3 separate regions of the Homo sapiens genome follow, and regions 1 and 2 are each linked to region 3. The links are contacts of gene promoters, found by promoter capture Hi-C in blood cells and fetal thymus (Javierre and others, 2016). All regions are on one chromosome and are shown on one strand. Each heading gives the region's core, a stretch centred on a gene start or on the middle of the fragment in contact. The rest is flanking DNA. Distances are from core to core; before and after follow the strand shown. Region 1 overlaps IRAG2 (inositol 1,4,5-triphosphate receptor associated 2). Region 2 overlaps LOC124902897. Region 3 holds the start of ETNK1 (ethanolamine kinase 1).

What was found. The method cuts DNA at HindIII sites, captures the fragments that hold promoters and counts their contacts. A CHiCAGO score of 5 or more calls a contact.
Region 1: a contact is called between a fragment that was not itself captured here and the fragment with the promoter of ETNK1 in region 3, in 1 of 17 cell types (M2 macrophages). The highest score is 5.9, in M2 macrophages.
Region 2: a contact is called between a fragment that was not itself captured here and the fragment with the promoter of ETNK1 in region 3, in 3 of 17 cell types (M2 macrophages, M0 macrophages and M1 macrophages). The highest score is 7.5, in M2 macrophages.

What each region holds. Positions count from the first base shown.
Region 1 is chr12:25,053,486-25,057,809 of GRCh38, reverse strand. All of the region lies in intron 1 of IRAG2 (inositol 1,4,5-triphosphate receptor associated 2), which reads right to left. Among named protein-coding and RNA genes, the nearest start is that of IRAG2, 2.9 kb to the right of the region's middle. The HindIII fragment of the contact is 1,991 bases long and covers 2,002-3,992 here.
Region 2 is chr12:24,719,164-24,723,218 of GRCh38, reverse strand. All of the region lies in intron 1 of LOC124902897, which reads right to left. Among named protein-coding and RNA genes, the nearest start is that of BCAT1-AS1, 99 kb to the left of the region's middle. RefSeq lists an enhancer at 3,456-3,515. The HindIII fragment of the contact is 4,909 bases long and covers 1-4,055 here.
Region 3 is chr12:22,622,432-22,626,865 of GRCh38, reverse strand. It overlaps ETNK1 (ethanolamine kinase 1), which reads right to left and starts at 1,695. Exons shown (of 8, transcript NM_018638.5): 1 at 1,280-1,695. The coding sequence starts at 1,435. ETNK1-DT (ETNK1 divergent transcript) reads left to right here and starts at 1,820. Exons shown (of 4, transcript NR_135030.1): 1 at 1,820-2,193. RefSeq lists enhancers at 572-1,261, 1,281-1,450, 1,981-2,050. The HindIII fragment of the contact is 2,136 bases long and covers 1-1,930 here.

The DNA.
Region 1 (4,324 bases), core at 1,748-4,247, 2.4 Mb before region 3:
TGTTCCTTAGGGTGCTAGAGGTGGAGGCGGGGCATTGACTGGGAAGTTGCACAAGGGAAGTTTCTGGGGTGATAGAAATTCCGTGTTTTGATGTGTATTTATCTACCTGGTTGAATAGTATACTCGAGATCTGAACATTTTATGACATGTTAAATACATTAATAAAAAAGAAGTTAAAAGTATAAGAACAAAATAATGCAGGGATTATGAGAGAAATAGGGTTAAGAAGAAACCACTAAAAAAATACATGCAGCTGGGCAGAGTGGCTCATGCCTGTAATCCCAAAACTTTGGGAGGCTGAGGCAGGAGGATTGCTTGAGCCCAGGAGTTTGAGACCAGCCTAGGCAACACTGCAAGATCCTACCTCTACAAAAAATTTAAAAATTAGCCAGGCATAGTGGTGCTCGCCTATAGTCCTAGCTACTCAGGAGGCTGAGGCAGGAGGATCACTTGAGCCCAGGAGGTTGAGGCTACAGTGAGCCATGATCCCACCACCATAGTCCAGCCTGGGTGACAGAATGAGATCCTGTCTCAAAAAAAAAAAAAAAAAAAAAAAATCTGTCTACCTGTCTACCTACCTACCTACCTATCTGTATGTATGTGCAACACTGTAACCAGAGTACTAACAAACACACTTATTATTAGTACTAAGAAGATCACATGCATCACTCAGACATGCAACTTTAAATGCCTCACAGGATATTAGAAATACACAAAAACAAGAGAGTGGAAATGCTGGTGATGCTTTCACTAGAACAGTGGTGGTGGGGTGAAAGGCAAATGTAGATAGAGGCAGCGAGGCTAACAAGGTGAACACAGGAGGGAGTATGATTGGACACAGACCAGGGCTCTACAAGGCTGGGGTAGAGCCCTATAAAGTCCAGAGCCCTGTAGAACCCAGAGTGACTCTGGGGAGGGAGGCCCAGGTGCAGACACTTATTTTAATTTTCTCAAAATAAAGCTGAAAGGGTTCCTGTTGCCTGTTCAGCAGCCAAGCTAAGGACTTTTTCCTTTCCTGAGGAAGGTGAGAGTTCTATTCCTACCAATCCAGATCCAAGTGCCAAGAAAATCGTGAATGAAACAACATAATTTCTATACTATATAACCACAGCATTTCCCCATTTACAAATCACAAATGAGATGATTCATGTTATAGAAACGTATTCTAGCAGAACACAAATATCAACTGTGGCCAAGCATTAGCTACTATTTTGCATTTATTATGTTATTTATGTAATTCACAACAACTGCATTTAACCAAAGAGGATACTGAAGCTCAGAGAGGCAATGTGATTTGCTCAACTTTACCCAGCCACTCTTCTGTGGACTTTGAGTGAGAACACAGGTTTGTTAATTTCAAATCCCATGTTCTTAATCATTATACTATACTTCCCAGATTACTTCTCCATATCTGCATTTTTCATTTGGGAAAACTTGGGTCCCTATCCTATCAGAGTTGTTGAGCAAGCTGTATTTGGCTTTGGTTTTCTCCTTGGCCGTCACCCCAAAACCTTCTATCTTTAAGTATCTCAATCACCTGGATCCCTTCACCCGCCTTCTTTGGCTCATTTCCCTCCTGTTTACTGACTGCTTAGGACACGGCTTTCATCTTGAATCCATGCTCCAAGCCCTAAGGGTTTTACCTCTGCCATACCTCCCGCCCTCCATGCTAAGAATAGCAAGCTAAAAGAGTGTTTGCAGTGATATTATCTAGGTGAAAGTCTCCTCTAAACTAGGAAGTTCATGTGCAGATACTACGTTCAAATAAGAAATTATGCTATATCAGAGTTTCCCAGGATCTCTTTTCAAGGAAAAATTTGTGATTCTTAAAGGTAATTCTCTCATTGTCTATGAGAAGACTGACTCCATGAAGATTTCACGTCAGATGGGAACAAGAGATGGTGAATAGTAAGGGGGTGATAGTTTTGGATTGTATCAATTAGTCCATGATTTCTGTACATAAGATTCACCCTAATATGTTATATACACATCCTATAAGCTTTTAAAAATTTCCTTTTTAGATGAGTTCATGTCCTTTGTAGCGACATGGATGAAGCTGGAAACCATCATTCTGAGCAAACTATCGCAAGGACAGAAAACCAAACTCTGCATATTCTCACTCACAGGTGGGAATTGAACAATGAGAACACTTGGACACAGGACGGGGAACATCACACACTGGGGCCTGTCATGGGGTGGGGATAGGAGAGGTGTAGCATTAGGAGAAATACCTAATGTAAATGACGAGTTAATGGGTGCAGCACACCAACATGGTACATGTATACATATATAACAAACCTGCACGTTGTACACATGTACCCTAGAACATAAGTATAATAAAAAAAATTTCCTTTTTAAAGCAAACACTAATTATAATCCAGTCATGTGTCTATTAACAAGATACTTGGATATAAACAAAGTTTAGATGCAGAAGAAATAAAATATATAAGTAACCATTCAAGCAATTGAACAGTTTTCATGGCACATTTCTTGAAGAATATCATGCACATGAATTGCCTCATAAATCAGCCCAGTCCTGAAGGCAATTGAAAACTTGAACAATATCATTTATTCAAGATAAAGTTCAGGATTTCTGATCAAACATCACATATAAATTTCCAGTTGTAGTGTGAACATTATGCACATTGATCTGAACATTTGGACAAACCAGCTGCATCCCCACACAATGTGCTGATGCAACTTAGATGGATCAGAAAACAATTGTCTGAAATACTTTGTGAATTTATTAAACTAGCCAGAGAGTTTCAGAAAAGCTAAATAGATATAAATATGTTTTGTTTTCTGACTCAGAATCAGATGTCTGACTCAGAAATCAAACAGCATGGGGTGGCAGTGGTCATGGCGGGATGTGCGTGGACGTGTTTGTGTGATAACTGCAGTCATTGACATTTGTTTGCAGTCTATCTGGAACATCTGCTATATAGAACATTTTGAAAATACGTGCTATCTAAATTTCCCTCTTCTCTCAAAGATTGAATTTAAAGGGCATTGTTAGAAAGATCGTAAGTACATGGTCATATAAGCAAAATCCTGATTTGTATGGGTTTTTTGGGCAGCAAAAGATACAAGTAACAAGTAAGGGATTTCATAAATCTGGACAGGTTATGCATAACTCAAGACAGAAAGGAAGTGTCCACTCTACGTTATCCAGGCAGAAAAAAATACACGTATCAACCCAGGGCAGCTTTCATATTCTGCTTTTAAGTGTATTTGAATCTATTGGGCCGTGAAGATAAACTGGGAAGACAACAATAGCAAGTTCATAATATCAAGAACGTGCACTTTGGGGTAAGTTATTAAAGTTGACTCTTCTAAGAAAATACTGCAAGAAAATCACAGTGAGGAAGGGGAACAAATTCTTAGTAGTTTATAAAACTCAGGTATAATATTGATTTAATCAAAAGGCAAAACTGGAGCAAAAGAATAGTCCTGGGCACAGTGTCTAAAGCAGACACACCTTAAACCAACTTTGGAATGCCTTATGATTCATGTCTCAACATGAACAGTTCTAATCACAAGGGAACCTTCTCCAATGCCCTCTGAGCAGTAGTAAAATAACACACAGACTGTGTAATTTAAAGACTGCCTTACTAGCTTAACAGAGTGAATCAGAATATTGAAAACTGGCAAATTCAATAAAGGTTTAAAAATTATGACAATAATATGTTGAATAACCACTGCTATTTTAATGTTTTATTTATTTATTTGTTTGTAATTTTTGTAGAGACAGGGTTTCACCATGTTGTCCAGGCTGGTCTCAAACTCCTGGGCTCAAGCAATCTGCCCACCTCGGCCTCCCAAAATGCTGGGATTACAGGGGTGAGCCACTGTGTCCGGCAAACCATTGCTATTTTAAAACTAGACTATTTCTTAAACTCCTAAATAGCTTTCTCAGATAATAGTAGAAAGGGTACAATAAATCCAAAACAAACACAAGTCTGAAATTTTTCATCTCTAGCCTACCTTAAGCTTATATATTAAATATATAATTATTTATAATTATATAACAATTAACAAATAAACAATGTTTATTTCTCAAACCAAGTAACTTTCTATAAAAAGAATATTTATACTGCTAGAACAAGAAACTGGCTGAACAAAAGCAATTGTCTGATAAATGGCTAAATAAGTAAGGTTTATTTTTACCATATTAGGTTTCTAGAATGAAACAATTTTATAGCTAATCTGACATCTGTAATGTGACAACTGTCTTCTCACATAAATCTCTGGTAACTGTTTATATACTTTTGGGTAATACAGAAAAATGACAAATATTCCAATTTTTAAAATGCAAAATATGTAT
Region 2 (4,055 bases), core at 831-3,330, 2.1 Mb before region 3:
ATTGGCAACTTTATACACAGACACGCTTGCTTTGGGCAGCGTTACTACAGGTTTTTGCCATATCAACACCAGAATTCTGACAATTTCTATTTCACAAACTTTATATTCAAAAAAAAAAAATGTGTAGTGTATTTGTAGTTGTATATACAACATTATCAAGTATTGTATTAGTCTGTTTTCATGCTGCTGATAAAGGCATACCTGAGACTGGGAAGAAAAAGAGGTTTAATGGACTTACAGTTCCACATGGCTGGGGAGGCCTCACAATCATGGTGGAAGACAAGGAGGGGCAAGTCACGTATTACATGGAAGGCAGCAGGCAAAGAGAGAGAGAACTTGTGCAGGGAAACTCCACCTTGTAAAGCCATCAGATCTTGTGAAACGTATTCACTATCATAAGAACGGCACAGAAAAGACCTGCCCCCATGATTCAATTACCTCCCACTGGGTTCCTCCTACAACACATGGGAATTCAAGATGGGATTTGGATGGGGACACAGCCAAACCACATCAAGGATATTCCTGACAGAATAGAACTTCTATTATGACTAAGAATTAAGAAAAACTCAATTCTTTACTTATACATTTACATGTTACAGAAGATTTATTCTCAGACTAACTTGTGATTCCATCAATTTCAAACCTGGGCTGCTCTCTCTTACCCACACGCTTTCAGTGCTGGGTGTCATGGCACCTGTTCCTATCACAATAGAACCTCTGACCTGTACCTCATGGCACAACACCAGGAGAGTCGGCACAGTGGGCAGGAAATAAAACTCAACACTACACTAAAATGGCTAGCAATGTGCCAACTACACATGAATATTGCTTCAAACCACATCAACATGTCCCACTGAACCAAAAAAATGTGCACCTCCACCCAACCTCCCCTTGGAAGATTCAAGAAACAACCATGGCCACACCAACATCATTGGAATGGGGAAAAGTGGAACAGAAAGTTGGAGTAAAGAGGGATAACTTTCTTTTTTTCTTTCTTTTCTTTCTTTTCTTTTTTTTTTTTTTTTTTGACAAGATGTGACTCCATTGCCTGGGCTGGAGTGCAGTGGCACAATCTCTGCTCACTGCAACTCCATGCTCAAGCAATTCTACAATTTCAGCCTCCCAAGTAGCTGGGACTACAGGCATTCACCATCACGCCCAGCTAGTTTTTGTATTTTTGTATTTTTGTATTTATTTATTTATTTTTTTGGTAGAGGCGGGATTTTGCCATATTGCTCAGGCTGGTCTCAAACTCCCAGACTCCAGCAATCCTCCTGCCTTGGTCTCCCAAAATGTTGGGATTACAGGTGTGAGCTACCATGCCCTGCCAAGATAGCTTTCTAAACCAAAATATATATACTTAATATCTTATTTAAAAAAAACCCTCATGGCACATATTTCTTTACCCACTCTCAGATTTTTGGATAGAAAGAAACTATGTGAAGGAAGGACCCTGGAGCTTAAACTTCATGAGCTTTATTGGGCAAAGGAAGTCTTTCTAACCATTATGATATTTTTTTCTTCATATGAAAAGAGAATGAGTATTCTTCCCTTTTGGACCATATTTAAGGAGCGTTTTTCTCAAACTTCTTTGTAATAAAACCTTGACTGCTTAAGATGTATTTGTACTTGGTTCATCATTAGCTGTTGAGGCATTTTTTGCATACCCATCTTTTTTGGACATAGGGTCATGAGAATTCAATTTAAAAAATCACAAGTCCTTGAATATTCTCAATTTATCTCTGTGACACTAGGCTTTAAAGAAAGCAGGGGCAGAGTTGGAACTTGACTAGCAAATGACCACAGTTATGGTTGTAATACTAGTCAATTATGACATAAAAATACAGTGAGTCACAGTGGGACACCAACCTAACTTATTGGAAGCAAAAAAAAAAAAAAAGTTAACCAGTTGTTTTGTTTTCCTATATAAACAGCTGGTTTAATTTTCACATTAGATAAATTCATAAATTTCCTCATATGTATAATGAACAAAGTCCTGCCTCCTCCTAAACTGAACAGAAACCATGTTTATTTTGCTTACTCTCATGTCCCCAGTTTCCAGAATGTTAGCAACTACAGGGTAGTTAATATATAAATATTTGGTGAAGGAATGAAATCAGAAGACATCAATTATTCAGCTTGAGTTATTTCTATGCCACATACAAATACACATGTCCTATGGCTGCCATAGCAAATTATCACAATTTAGTGACTTAAAACATTATACATTTATTATCTACAATTCTGAAGGTCAGAAGTCTGAAATGAGTTTTATGAAGCTAAAACAAAGCCATCAGCAGGGTTTATTCCTTGTGGAGGCTCCAAGGGAAAATCTATTTCCTTGACTTTTCCAGCTTTTAGAGGCTTCCTGCTTGTCTTGGCTCATGGCCCCCTCCTCTATCTTCAAAGCACATGGTTCCAACCTCAGATTCTTTTATCCCATCTCCTTTCTGATGTTTGATAGGGAGATGGGACAAGAGATCTTGCCTCCCTCTTATAATAAGGACCCTTGTGATGACACTGGGCCCACCTCGATAATCCAGAGTATTCTCCCCATCTCAAAACATTTAGCTTAATTCCATCTGCAGAGTCTCTTTAGCTACATAAAGTAAGATTTTCACAGGTTCTGGAGATGTGGATGTAGACATCTCTGGGGGCCATTATTCTGTCCACACAGTTTGAGAAATCACTCCCAGAATATTTGTTTTTAGGGACAGTTACTGGAATTCATTGAATTTAGACCTGGTTTCTGGGCTAGTATTTTGTCATTGAGACAATACTTTTACTAAAGCAGAAATTTTTAAAAAGCACTTTAATGTCAAGAGAGATTTACTGGACACAAAGACCACAAAGAGGTCTATATTAATACTGAGAAGCAATATAGACTTGGGGGAAATTTGCTCTCTTTATTGTAGCAATTTATAATCTGGATGAATGGATATATCACAGATATTTGATTCTCACCACCCCTCCCGTATCAGTTTTTTCCTTATTGCCTCTACAGTTCTGGGAGATACTCAATATGCTGTATGAGTAAGGACTTGCTCTTCTCTGTTGCCTCTCTTCTCCTCTGTATGAGTTACACTAAAACTAACTTGGCTCAAGTGACAAGATGAAGATACTTGTTTAATGGTGTTTCTCAGAGAGCAGACAACAACTTAATTAAAGAGGGCATATGATAAATGAAAATATTTTCAGGAGAATATGAGTTACAAATTACCTCAATACAAATTAATAAGCAACGGAACTCCTGACACAGTCTAGGTGCTCAATAAATATTTGTTGAACTAATTACACATTTATATGTAGTATGAGGATTACTTCACCTCCATACAGCAGCTCACTTCTATAGACACCTTGGCTGGGATGTAACAGTGACTCTAAAGGCACAAACTCCACAGTTAAATGATGAAAAGACAAAAACAAGAAGGAAGAGGTCCTGGGATCTAATGAGGACCTTGTGGACAATGAGCATGAAGAAATTCTTTTGAGAGCTGGGGTCTCCCATTGCACATTGGAACATCATAGTGCCAGTGCCTAGGTCTGACTCAACAAAGCACCACCACTGAGTCATCTGACCACTTCCTGGGTTTTCCCCCTTGAAGCCTTCACACCCAGGGTCTGCATGCACCCCACCCTGCAGGGGATGATCTCAACTGGGTTCATTAACTAAAGCCTTGACAGACCCTTCTGATGTAATGGTCCCTGTGAAACCCAGAGTCCCATCTCTGGAGACTGTGAGGGAAGAGGGTTTAAGCAATGACAATTAGTTGGGAATTTTTTCCTTCATGTCATCTGTGAGAACCATCTGACCTCACAAGCAAGACTCTCTGTGGTGAGAAAGGGTGGTGTGTGCCTTACAGGAAATTCGAAAATGACTTCAGGGCATTACATACATGATTAGCAAGAGGGTAAAATATAGGATTGGAATCTTGCTTCTGATTTTTAGAGTAGAAAGAAAATTGGGCTAGGGCGGGGGAAGAGAGGTCACTGAGGAAGGGTGTATTTGATGATACAGCCTGAAGGAAAAAGAGCTCTCCATAGCCTTCCTCATT
Region 3 (4,434 bases), core at 446-2,945:
TCCTTTAAAGGAAATATATTTTTTAAATGACATAAAAATCACTTTGGATTCACTATTTCCTATATTCTCGGCTAACAAATACTCCCTTAAATTTCAAAATTTGTTGTCTAACAAGTTTCTTCTCCAAAACATACGGGTCCTTTAAAATAATCTGCTTAAAAACTCTTCTAGGTAATAAGAACTGAAACTAACACATGAAAACCCAAGTGTCAGGAACTGTTCTGGGCCCTAGGCACTGCTCATGTTTTATTCATCTTTGTGTGGGTGGCTGGCTAGTTTAGCGAAGAATTTAGCAAATAAATCAACAAATATTGGTGAATAAATTAGTCATCAAAACGAGGCAGATGATTTGGCTAATTCAAATGAATGTTCTTACATTATTGCTCAGATTTAGAACAAATCCCAAATATCCCAATCTTGAAAATTACTGTTTTTTTTTGTTTGCAAGGGAAAAGGAGAAAAAGAGATCTATTTTTGTATCTAGTTCCTGAAACTAAAGCTAAAAACAGATTAGTATTCAAAAAAAATCACGTAGTGGAAATCATAACTTCCAACTTATTAGAAAACTCCTAGAGTCTCAGGGATTTTTTTCCTCCCAATTTTTTCTCTATCAACACGGTGTCTCATGAAAAGGAAACAGTCACAAGCCACTGCTCCTTCTAGTATCAGGTATTAATTTCAGTAAGACGACTTTAATAATTCAGAAATATCGACTCAAACAAAACAATGTGTGTGGTGCTGCCTAAGAACCGACCTAGCGATGCATGGTCGTGGTCATTACTTTGGGAATTGAGTACGCTAGGGTTTGGGAAGACAAAACGCAGTGTGAGGCATCAATGAAAGCACATCGCAGGGGGAGGGGAGAGGAAGGAAAGATCAGAGAGGATTAATGACTGCATTACTGGTGGGAGGGGAGGAGGTAGACGAGGACCCCGTGCAAGGGGAGTGGAAAGGTTCATTTTGCAGTGACCGTGGACTGGGGAGTGGGAGGAGGGGCAACTATCAGCAGGAATCTCCCCCCGTGGATGGGTCCGTCACTTACGCAGCGGCTTCTAGAAAGAGAAAATGTGCCTCAGGTCAATCTCAAAGAGCAACTGCGACGGGAAGGGGGAGTGACCCTCCTAGGTGTGAGGGGAAATACAGGGTCACTTCCCAATAGACTTAAGGAGATGTTGCCCTAGGTCCTCCTCGGTCATCGTGGGACAGAGGCGATTGTGGTGAGGACCCCCAGAGCCGCGTGAGGGGCATAAGAGACCCAGAGCTGAGGTGTGGGCGTTACCTGCAGGGTCACCTCCTGGGGGTCCCAGTGAGGCCGCAGGTGTTGCAGGAGGCTCAGGGCCCCCTCCCGGCAGCGATGCTCCTCCTGATCCTGAACGGTGACGTTCAGCTTGGGCACCTCCGGGGAGCCGGGAGGGACGTGGATGTAATTGGCCATGGCCCAGGCGACGGCGGAGACTACCACCACGACGACGGCGACGGCGACCACGAGAACGGCGGGCGCCGACAGACTGGTGGATCCTTCCGTCCCGGGGCGCCCTCGCGGGAGGGCTGGGGGCGCTGGGACGGGCGGGCGAGCGGCAGGAGAACGTCTGGAGGCGGCACTGTTGCCGATCCGGGTCTGGACAGCAGCTGAACTGAGCCCGGCCCGCTCTCGGAGAAAATTCCTGTTGTCGGAGCTGGACCGCGGGCGGCCGCAGAGCATGCCGGGGCTGGCCTGACGCTGGCGTCACGCGCGGGGCGGGTCCTGCGCTGCGTCAGGGTGCCGAGGCGGGGTTTCTCGCCTCCGGTCACAATGGGACCTCTGTACCGCGCTGGGCTTGTTGGCCTGCGATTAGCACACACCCATCCCTGGGAACTGCTAGTCTGGAAAGCGGGGCTGCTTCTCCGGGATGAGCCCGAGCCCTGCCAAGCCCCTCAAGGCATTGAAGCTTTAGCTCACCTTATCCGAATGGTCATTGGGCATCTGGACTTGAGTTAACGACTGAATTTTTCTGGGAAGCAAGGGACACGTTCTAAAATAACCCCAGGATCACTCTCCGAACTTGGCCTGAGTCTAGGCAAGCAGTGTTACTCGGTCGCCTTGATCTTGGAGCTGCTGTGTACTGGGGACCTCATACTAGTTGGGTTAACTATATTCCCATTAGCAGTACGCGGGATCGCAGTACTCGGGACAAGCTGAGTTCAGGTATTTGGGTAAGACAACTGCAACACTTCAGAGGTTATTTGTGGAGTAAGATGTTCGACCATACAGTGAATAATTCGAAGCTAGGGAGAACAGATTAGAGTCTGGTATGAAGAAGAAAGGGAAGGAAAGGAATAGTTTTGAAGCTCAGCGCTAGAACGACTCGATGTCCATGCCAGGGTACCCCGAGTGGGCCTTGAAATCTTGCGTCTCAGTGCCTTACAGGGAATGGTAGAAACTGGAAAATCTACAAGTAAAGTATTGGGACCTCCTAATTTTCCTTTTAGATGGAGGAAAACGGGCTGGGATTCCCTGCAGCACTTAGCACACGGTGAATACGTTTGTTAGTAGTAAATAAAACCCTTAACTGGACTGAGTTTAATTAACATTCAAAATGTTTAATTACTTCACTAGCATTAAGTTTACATCCTGATTGTTCAGAAAGAACCTACTTACCTTTGTAATTAACAAAATAATTACTTCACCGATAACGGTAAACTTCCTAAACTAAAAAGAGGGGTGGAAATGGAGCTTTATAATACAGCAAAGAAGTTGATTTAACATTTTTCAAATTTAGTGGTTTTTTTGTTTGTTTTTTGTTTCTGTTTTTTTTTGTTTTGTTTTTGAGACGGAGCCTCACTCTGTCGCCCAGGCTGGAGTGCAATGGCGCGATCTTGGCCCACTGCAACCTCCGCCTCCCGGGTTTAAGGGATTCTCCTGCTTCAGCCTCTCGAGTAGCTGGGATTACCGGCGCGTGCCACCACGCCCAGCAAATTTTTGTATCTTTAGTAGAGATGGGTTTCACCATGTTGGCCAGGCTGGTCTCGAACTCCTGACCTCAGGTGATCCACCCACCTCGGCCTCGCAAAGTGCTGGGATTACAGGCGTGAGCCACCGCGCCCTGCCAGATTTAGGCATAATTTTCTACAAGAAACATTAGAGTGTGTGTTCCTTCCACTTTGGGGAGAAATCATAAATATACTACTACTTTCACATTTCAGATAGTATCTCTTGTATTTTTGTATAAATTGTATTTTTTATTAAGCAGTTGACATTTTAAGAATTTTAAAACTATGTAACTGTAAAACAATTTAATTGAAAATTATGTTGCAAACTGCACTAGTTTGTAATGGTAAATAAGAGTCCATTAACAAGTAGAAGAAAAGAAAAAAAAACTATTAGGTACCTGAGAACAAAAGTAACCGAAAATGTACAGGATCCATGGATAAAATTAATGGAGAAATGAACCATATTCATAAATGAGAAAAGATTAATGTAAAGGCCTCAATTTTCCCTGAACTAATCAGTACATATAATGCAATTCCAGTTAAAATCTCAAAAGGGTTTTTTTACTGAACTTGTTAAAATGACATTGAAATTCATATCAAAACTTAAGGTCCAAGAAAAGCGCTGTAATTGGGGAGAGGAGGATAGGGACAGGTAAGATCAGGGAATATATTGGGAGGACCAACCCTACCAGGATGTATTATATATTGGTTTAGGTATGGGCAAATAAACTACTAGAACATAATAAAGTCCCAGAACAAAACCTACACACATATGAGAACTTTGTATATAACAAAAGTAGCATTAAAAATTAGTGAGAAAGTCCAGACTGATCAATGAACCGTAGTGATACAATTGCTTTTTGTATGAGAAAAAAATTTTGATCCCTCCCTCTTATTATGCATAAAAATTAATTTGGGGAAGATTAGAAACCTAAATGTTAAAAGCAAAACTTTAAAAATGTGCAAGAAATATCAGTTCTTATCAACCTGATCTACTGATTCAATTCTAATCACCTCAAGTTATGTTGTGGATATCAGCAAACCAGTTCTAATGTTTACATGCAAAGCCACAAGAGCCAGAATAGCCAATACAATATTAAAGAAAAACAAAGTGAGAAAACAGACAGACTTGAAGACAGTATAGCTGGGTGCAGTGGCTCATGCCTGTAATCCCAGCACTTTGGGAAGCTGAGGCAGGAGGTTCGCTTGAGCCCAGGAGTTTAAGGCCAGCCTGGGCAACACAGTGAGACCTCATCTCTCCAAAAAAAAAATTAGCCAGGTGTGGTGGTGCACACCTGTAGTCACAGCTACTCCGAGGCTGAGACAGGAGGATTGCCTGAGCCCAAGAGATTGAGGCTGCAGTGAGCCATGATCAAGTTACTGCACTCAAGCTTGGGCAACAGAATTAGACCTTGCCTAAAAAAAGAAAAAAAAATAGTATATGTTCCAATAATCAAGACAGTG